2 separate regions of the Homo sapiens genome follow, and region 2 is linked to region 1. The links are contacts of gene promoters, found by promoter capture Hi-C in human tissues and cell types (Jung and others, 2019). All regions are on one chromosome and are shown on one strand. The core of a region is centred on a gene start or on the middle of the fragment in contact, and the rest is flanking DNA. Distances in the headings are between cores, read along the strand shown. Region 1 holds the start of BHMT2 (betaine--homocysteine S-methyltransferase 2). Region 2 overlaps ARSB (arylsulfatase B).

Region 1 (4,363 bases), core at 1,291-3,790:
ATTTGCCATTTTTCTTTTCTTTTCTTTCTTTTTTTTTTTGAGACAGAGTTTCACTCTTGTCGCCCAGGCTGGAGTGCAGTAGCGCGATCTCAGCTCACTGCAACCTCCACCTCCAGGGTTCAAGCAATTCTCCTGCCTCAGCCTCGCAAGTAGCTGGGATTATAGGTGCATGCCACCATGCCCAGCTAATTTTGTATTTTTTAGTAGAGACAGGGTTTCACCATGTTGTCCAGTGTGGTCTCGAACTCCTGACCTTAGATGATCTGCCTGCCTCGGCCTCCCAAAGTGCTAGGATTACAGGTGTGAGCCACTGTGCCCGGCCAATTTGCCATTTTTCTACATAGCCATTAGCAAAATAACTAAGTTATCAAGATTTGAGATCAGAGCATCTTTTAGCCCTTCCTTCACTGCTATTCTAACTACCTCAATTAATTACTATACCAGTATGATCCCTTCTTTAGTTTTTTTTTTTTTTTTTTTTTTTACTTTTAAGTTCAGGGGTACATGTGCAGGATGTGCAGGTTTGTTACACAGGTAAATGTGCATCATTGGAGGTTTGCTATATGGGTTATTTCCTCACCCAGGTATTAAGCCTAGTATCCATTAGTTATTTTTCCTGATCCTCTCCCTCCTTCCACCCTCCACCCTTCGATAGGCCCCAGTGTGTGTTGTTCCTCACCATTATACTAGTACGATCTAAAGTCAACTGTAAAATTATAAAGACAGGAACATGTAAAATAAGGAACCCTGTAAATTAATTTTGCAGTACATTTATATTTTCATTCCCTCCTCCCCATCAGTTTGGCAGTGAACCTGCCTTGCATCTGACAGCGAGCTCTAGGGTGCATTTATGCCCCCTTTTTGCAGATATCACTACGTAAGACCTCTGGGTTTAAGATCTGGCTTCAAGACATCTCTATTCATACTCAGTGGGGATCAACTTCACTGTGTAGTAGGAGGTGATCAGAAAAACCCAGTCTGTCTAAAATAACTTCCCCTTTTCCTAGATTTGCCAGCAGAACTGCTCTTTTGGATTTAAGACCTAATTGGAGGTCTTGTCTGTGGCAATTAAATGAATTCTTAAAATGTACCTGCTAGCTGAGGAGAGAGGTGAGATTAGTTCCTTCCCATTAACACCTTAACTCCCAGGTACACATTCACATGGATTAGTGTGTGATAATCTTGGTGTTGTAACAGTAGAGGCCCCAAAGACACTGAACAAAAACAGGGCATTTTAAAAACGTTTAAAAATATGAACTGTAAAGATGAACATAGCATTAGAGAAAGTTGAGAGAAAAAAGCACAATGTTCTTTGATTATTTTTATTAACTGTATTCTTTCAATGCTCACATTTTGCTTTTATAACCTGAAAAAATATCCTAAAACATGCTTTTTAAACCAATATTCCACATCTTGTGTAACTATTACCATTATTGTGTCCTTCCTTACAGTGTGTATATAAATATTTGTATATGGTTGGGATCAGTTTGTGATATATTTCCTTTTGCAACTTAACATTGCCAAGGCACTTAGCTGGTTCTCATACTAAGTTATTTAACTGTCTAATAACTTAAGTAGATGAACCTTAATTTATTTAGAATCCCGTATTGCAGAGTATCTTGGTCGTTTCTAACTTTTTAGTATAAATAGCTCGGTGGTGCACATTTCCACGCATAAACTGCCCCTCCTCCCTTCCTCCCATTCTGAATGACAGGGCTGGAGCGGGTGGGGGTCTCTGAAGGGTCCTGGGGATGTCTTTCGTCCAAGCTCATGCCCTTCCTAATTTTGCTTAGTCACTCCTTCATCCCACCCCCACACATACTCGACGTAGAAATGGCTGGGCATAAAGCCAACATCTGGTGACCAGACCAGGAAAGGGGCCAGGAGCTGGGGACCACCGGGTGAGAGGAGGTTGAGGGGTGCTAGCGAATCCCACCTACCCTCCACCCTGCACCGCAGCTCTGGGGGCGTCCTTGCCCAGGACTAGTTTCAGACCAGCCGGCGACTCGCAAGGCCAGGCTGCTTGGCCAGGCTGCTGACTTTTCCAAAACGCGAGGGGACAGTCCGAAGAGTTCCCGGACGGATTAGCCCAAAGAGCTGCGGGCGAGGGTCGGTTGAGGGAAGAAAATGTGTGCGCGACATGCGTCCGAAAGCTAGACTTCTGATCCTCGCTCCCCGCGGGGCTGGACCCGTGACCCTGAGCTAGTCGCCTGACTCGCCGAGCCTCAGTTTCCTCACCTGTGAAATGGGGATAATTGTGAAGATGAGGAGATAACTTGAGCACAGCACTCTGTGCAGCGCCAGGCACCGAGTAAGGGCTCCATAAACGCTAACCAACCCGTGACAGGGGAAAATTGAGGCTCAGGGCCATCCCGTCCAAGTGTTTTGCCGAGGCCCCAGGGCTTGGCTAGGGATGGACGCCGGGTGTGAACGGAGTCGCTCGCAGCCCAGCGGCCAGGAGCTCCGCGAGGATCGAGGGGACGAAACTCACCTTCTTGGCCCCCGGGCGTCCAGCAGGTGCCATGGTGCCGCGGCTCTGTGGGCGCCGGGTTCCCGGGCGCGCGGCCGTCTAGGAGCCCGCCCCCAGCCCGGGGGGAGGATCCGACCCCCGCCCCGCCGGCCCCGCGGCCTCAGGCTGCCCGCTGGCCTCGGAGCAGGCGCCTGCGCCCTCGGCCTCGGCCTAGTCATGCTCCGTCCCGGCGCGCAGCTGCTGCGGGGCCTCCTGCTGCGGAGCTGCCCGCTGCAGGGCTCCCCCGGGCGCCCGCGCTCTGTCTGCGGCCGGGAAGGGTGAGTGGGGCCCCGTCCTGCTCAGAGGCGACGGGGCGGCTGCGGGGGTGGGAGCCAGAGGCTGAGGCAGGCTCAGGGGTTAGGAGCGCTCTGGCCTCCAAGAAATAGGCCTTGATATATCTTCTCGAATTATCTTTTAATTATAAAGTGAAACAGTATCCAAAGGTTCCCCGTGTAAAGTCTCTCCTGCCCCAATCCCCTTGGCCAGTGAACAATTGTTAATAGTGTCTTCTGAATCTAACCAGAGACAGTCTACGCATAGGCAAACACAGGTCAGTATAGGTTTTCCTTTGGCTTTTTGACATCTTGCTTTTTACAATTATCAATATATCTTGGAGATTGTTCCATATCAGCACACACTGACTTGCCTTGTTCCTTTTAATGGCTGCATAGTTTTCCATCCTGTCAATATTCTACACTATCGTTAGTCTATTCATTAACATTTAAATGGTTTTTGGTTGTTTATTACTGCAAATAACGTGCATGTGAAAATTCTTAGGCATCTATCTTTGAGTACATATGGGAGTCGGTAGCAACAGTTTTTAAAGGTGAACTTGTTAGGGAAAAGGTTACGTGCATCTGAAAGATTGAAAGACAGCAACACATTCTCCAAGTGGGTGGCAAGAGTTTGCATGCGGCACACCAGTGTGTGTCTGTTTCCCACATCTTCCCTGGTTCCCAGAATAGCCCATTTTGTTATCTTTGCTAAATCTGATAGGTAAAAATGGCATGTCCTTGTTTTGATTGGTCTGTATTTAAATATGAGCAATGCTGAACATCTTTCGACTTCTTATATTTGTAGATTATTCCTGGTTGCCAGGAAAGGCTTGTTTATCAGCATCACTCAACATTATTATGAGTTGATTCGAATTTTATTTTATGTCCTATGACCTGAAATTCTGGAATCAGAAGACCTGCTTTTGAGTTCCATCTATCCATTCAACAAATATTTACTGGGTGTTGTGATGTGCTAGGTTTGTCTCCAGTACTGGGAATGCAGTAGCCACCAACTCACAGTTCCTGCGCCATCTGTTACACAGAATGTGACCTTACACTTCTGAGGTTCAGTTTCCTCATCTATAAAATGAGGATACTAATTTTGCTCTATATAACTCACAGGATTGCTGTGAATATTAAATAAGAGAATGCATGTGAAAGTGCTTTGTAAATTGTAAAGCAATGCAAAAATATTTATAATAATGATGTTTTTAATCCAGTGCAAAATAAAATGGAAATTTAACAAACAAACTGATTAGATAAATAAGATACAAATTTCAAGACTATCCAAAAAATTCATATTTTGGCTGAGTGTGGTGGCTCATGCCTGTAATCTCAGCACTTTGGGAAGCTGAGGTGGGCAGATTACTTGAGGCCAGGAGTTTGAGACCAGCCTGATCAACATGGTGAAACTCTGTCTCTAATAAAAATGCAAAAATTAACTGGGTGTCATGGTGTGCACCTGTAGTCCAAGCTGCTTGGGAGGCTGAGGCGGGAGAATCGCTTGAACCTGGGAGGCGGAGACTGCAGTGAGAACCGAGATTGCACCACTGCACTCCAGCCTGGGCGACAGGGATTC
Region 2 (4,363 bases), core at 1,114-3,613, 160 kb after region 1:
AAGAAAGTAGCCCATTGCCTGGCAAATTACTAGAAAAATAATAGGAACGTTTAATGTCCATAAGAAGACTTTCATGAGGCCAGGTGTGGTGGCTACCACCTATAAATCCCAGCACTTTGGGAGGCCAAGGCAGGTCACTTGAGCCAGAGTTAAAGAACAGCCTGGCCAACATGACCAAACCCTGCCTCTACTGAAAACAGAAAAATTAGCTGGGCGTGGTGGCAGGTACCTGTAGTCCCAGCTACTCGGGAGGCTGAGGCAGGAGAATCGCTTGAACCTGGCGGAGATTGTAGTGAGCTGAGATCATGCACGCCAGCCTGAGTGACAGAGCGAGACTCTGTCTCAAAAACAAAGACTTTCATGAAATAAAACGAATAATGAGGTATCCTTGGCATCATCTGATGGCTCTGAGTATTTGTTGGGCTGCTCCATTCTGATACGTGGGCCATTCTGTCCAACAAGGTGTGGCATTGAGAAGGATTGGTGGTCACATTAAGGGCTTGTTTTCTTTTATATTGTTAAATAATAGACTCTGAAATGTTACTTTTCTCTGTAAAACAAGGTAGTACTTCCTAGTTCATTTCTTTCTTCTTTGTAAATTAATATTTAAAATAATACTTTCTAACTTTTGGATTACCAGATTAGACTTTATTGTATAATAAACCACATGATTTTAGATTTAAAGTCAGCTTTTGAAAGAAATCCTTATTATTTGTTCATTAATTTTAATTAAAAATTTGATAATGTTTCTGATAAAAAATATTAATATGTGGCTGCTGGGCACAGTGGTTCATGCTTGTAATCCCAGCACTTTGGGAGGCCAAGGCAGGAAGATTACTTGAGGCCAGGAATTTGAGACCAGCCTGAGCAACATAGTGAGACCCTGTCTCGAAAAAAAAGTTTTAAATATTAGCTGGGTGTGGTGGCACATATCTGTAATCCCAGCTACTCAGAAGGCTGAGGTGAGAAGATGACTTGAGCCCAGGAGTTTGAGGTTACAACGTACTATGATTGCACCACCGCACTCCTGCCTGGGTGATAAAGTGGTATCTTGTCTAAAAAAAAAAAAAAAAAATCATGGTATTGAAAGGTATAAAGAGGAAAATGTGAATTATTATTATTCTACTCCTAAGGTAAATATTTAACCTTTTATAGTGAAAATTTTTCTGACACTAAAAATTTTTTTAAAAACATGAGTTTTAACAATAGCAGTCATCTTAAGAAATCATTATTGAGGTGACTACAGCTAGCAAAGAAATTTTTTTTCCCCCAGCTGAAATCTTGGGTACCTTTATACTTTGGTATAAACATGTACACATAGTAGCAGAGAATAATTGTGATGCACTAAGCTGGCAGGTCTGTGGATTTCAGCTCCAAACACAAATATGTAACACTGAGCCTATATTGAAATATGGATTAAGAGGCTCTAACTCACTTTTGTAAAATAAAATGATAGGAGCCACATTTGTGTTTAATTATAGCATGAGAAACCTGAGAATCAAAAGAAATAAGTAAGTTCCATCACACAACAGGATAGGAAAAATAGAAAGTCTACCTCACACTGCTGCATTTGTCTGTAACTTGGCCTACTTTATGAAACTCAAAAGCGAATTAAGCCGGGCGCGGTGGCTCACGCCTGTAATCCCAAGCACTTTGAGAGGCTGAGGCGGGCGGATCACGAGGTCAGGAGATCGAGACCATCCTGGCTAACACGGTGAAACCCCGTCTCTACTAAAAACACAAAAAATTAGCCGGGCGAGGTGGCGGGCGCCTGTAGTCCCAGCTACTTGGGAGGCTGAGGCAGGAGAATGGCGTGAACCTGGGAGGCGGAGCCTGCAGTGAGCGGAGATCGCGCCACTGCACTCCAGCCTGGGCGACAGCGAGACTCTGTCTCAACAAAAGAAAAAAAAAAAAAAAGCGAATTAAAACTACATTTTAAAAGCCTGGTTCTCATCACAGTTTTTGGCTGTTAGGGATAGGACTGGTGCAGGCAACATTGCTCCAGCTGACCAGGAAATGGTCTTCCAGAATCCCTCTGATTTAATGAGCCCTATCTCCTAGCTCTGCGTGGGTTTTGAGTAACCATGAAAAAAAGCTTTTAAGTGATCAAAATGATATATTGATTCTTTCTTTCTAATGCCTTGAATATTCTTTCAGCAAAGCTGCTTTAAAAATAATTTCTGATTTTCTATTTGGTTTTTATCAAGACATGGAAATGGATAGAGGTATTGTGAATTGATCCCAAGAGGAAGAAATTCCTGTAAAATGTAGATGCGTTGGTCACATGGGGGAGAAGCTCCTGTCTGACCTCTATTTCATATTATGAGCTCAAAACATGCTTTCTCATGGGCCATGTGACATCATGTTTGGTTGAGCAAAATGTTAATGTTGCAGTGATTGGGATCAGTGCTGTGCTTCCTGACCCACCTGCTGCATTGGTAAACCTGAAACCACCGCAGCAAATATGTTTATTTGCTTTTCCCTGAAATGTGCTGTTCCTTTTTACCTCCTACAGATAAAACTGACAGGCCCTTTTCCTGCTAGCCAAAAACAGTGAGGAGAACCAGGTGGAAGACACAGCTTTTAAAATGTAGTTTTAATTCACTTTGAGTCCCATAAAGTAGGCTGAGTTACAGACGAGCTGTGGGCTTCACCAAATCACTCCATGACCTCACTTTCCTTCTGGCAAACCTCTCCCAGTGCAATATGTTGATATCGTTGATGGAGTATGAGAAACAGCTTGCTGGAGAAGAGCCTGCCTGTGATCTCTTAAGGTTGCCAGACAACATCACTGTAGGCCATCTTCTCTCTTTTTCCTTATGCTTCAATTTCCCATGGCTTTTGTGTACTACAATAACGTCAGTAACCAACCTCACTGGAACCACTTGGCTTGTAGATAGTGAAAGCTCTGTTTACATTAGAGGTAGTTTCAGAATTGATGAAAGCCTGTGTTGACTTCTTAGTTTCTTATAGTGGATATTTTGATTGAAAACACTGGAATCTCCAATGTGATAATTGACCTTACTGTTGTGTACTGAGATCTCTATTTTAGATTCTCCCCAAATACCACCTTTTTTCTATTTTTAAAATTATTATTGCAAATTCAGTCAAATAATATGGTAGACAGAAATTTGGATGGGCTTCAGGAAAAGAGGTTTAATAGTGGATTTGCCCCTAACTAGCTGTACAGCCTCTTGCATATCATTTAATCTATCTTGACCTCATTGTCTTTGTATTGAGATTCTGTGGTCCAGTCATGGGAATTAAAATCACCATCCATAGAAAGCTGTGTCTCTCGTCTCTTTGTGATTCAACACTTCATCTTTTCTGCAGAGTAGAACACCTTGTAGGCAGGTTCATAATCTTCTCTGTACTTGGAAATCACCCGGAAAGCCCCCTTTCAAGTTTCTAATTGCCCAAGTTATTCTTTTTTTTTTTTTTTTTTTTTTTTTTTTTTTTTTTTTTTAGAGGGAGTCTCACTCTGTTCCCCAGGCTGGAGTGCAGTTGTGCGATCTGAGCTCACTGCAACCTCCGCCTCCTGGTTTCAAGCGATTCTAGTGCCTCAGCCTCCTGAGTAGCTGGAATTACAGGCGTGCACCACCACACCCGGCTAATTTTTGTATTTTTAGTAGAGACGGGGTTTCACCATGTTGGCCAGGCTGGTCTCAAACTCCTGACCTCAGATGATCCATCTGCGTTGGCCTCCCAAAGTGTGCCCAAGTAATTCTATAATGTAGCCAGGATGAGAACCACTGGTATCAGGTCTAGACCCAGGGACTCATTATTATAAAACATTCCCCTTTGACATACCTTTTCATCCTTGAGTCAGGACAATTTTACCTTTCAGAAAGTAGCTACAGTCCTTTTATAATTTACTCCTCACCAAAGGTAAAATACATCCATTTTCTCTGTGTGTGACTTCTGACTATTCTGCACTGATTCAATACCCCTTCGTTTTTTGCTTATTTTTTCATTCTCACCATTCAACCACACTTGACACTTGAATCACTTTTGTTGATTTAAAAGAACAACAACAACAAAAATACAGAGTAAGATCACTTGACTTTATTGTATTAGCCATTAAATCTCTTTCTGGAGCAATAGTTCTCTAAGTATGGTCCCAGGAGCAGCAATATCACTATCACCTGGAAACTTGTTAGAAAGGCAAATTCTCAGGCCCCTTTCTGGACCAGAAGCTCTGGAGATGGTTCCCAGCAGTCTGTTTTCACAAGACTTCTAGGTGATTCGACACACTATTGCTTGAGAGCTGTTCTAGAGAGATTTTATATTTTCAGATAGTTGGATTTTTAAAAATTTTTTTAGTGTGCTCAGATATTTTTGAAGTAATCGTTGTCTGAACTTA

Evidence for each region. Contacts are between HindIII fragments. The study calls those that stand out against the background at their distance.
Region 2: a contact is called between a fragment that was not itself captured here and the fragment with the promoter of BHMT2 in region 1, in 2 of the 25 tissues and cell types used here (mesendoderm cells and thymus).

The regions. Positions count from the first base shown.
Region 1 is chr5:79,067,944-79,072,306 of GRCh38, reverse strand. BHMT2 (betaine--homocysteine S-methyltransferase 2) reads right to left here and starts at 2,540. Exons shown (of 8, transcript NM_017614.5): 1 at 2,492-2,540. The coding sequence starts at 2,524. DMGDH (dimethylglycine dehydrogenase) reads left to right here and starts at 2,633. Exons shown (of 16, transcript NM_013391.3): 1 at 2,633-2,787. The coding sequence starts at 2,687. The HindIII fragment of the contact is 19,729 bases long and covers 1-4,363 here.
Region 2 is chr5:78,910,676-78,915,038 of GRCh38, reverse strand. The region is part of intron 4 of ARSB (arylsulfatase B); the gene reads left to right. Among named protein-coding and RNA genes, the nearest start is that of ARSB, 72 kb to the left of the region's middle. The HindIII fragment of the contact is 5,848 bases long and covers 1-4,363 here.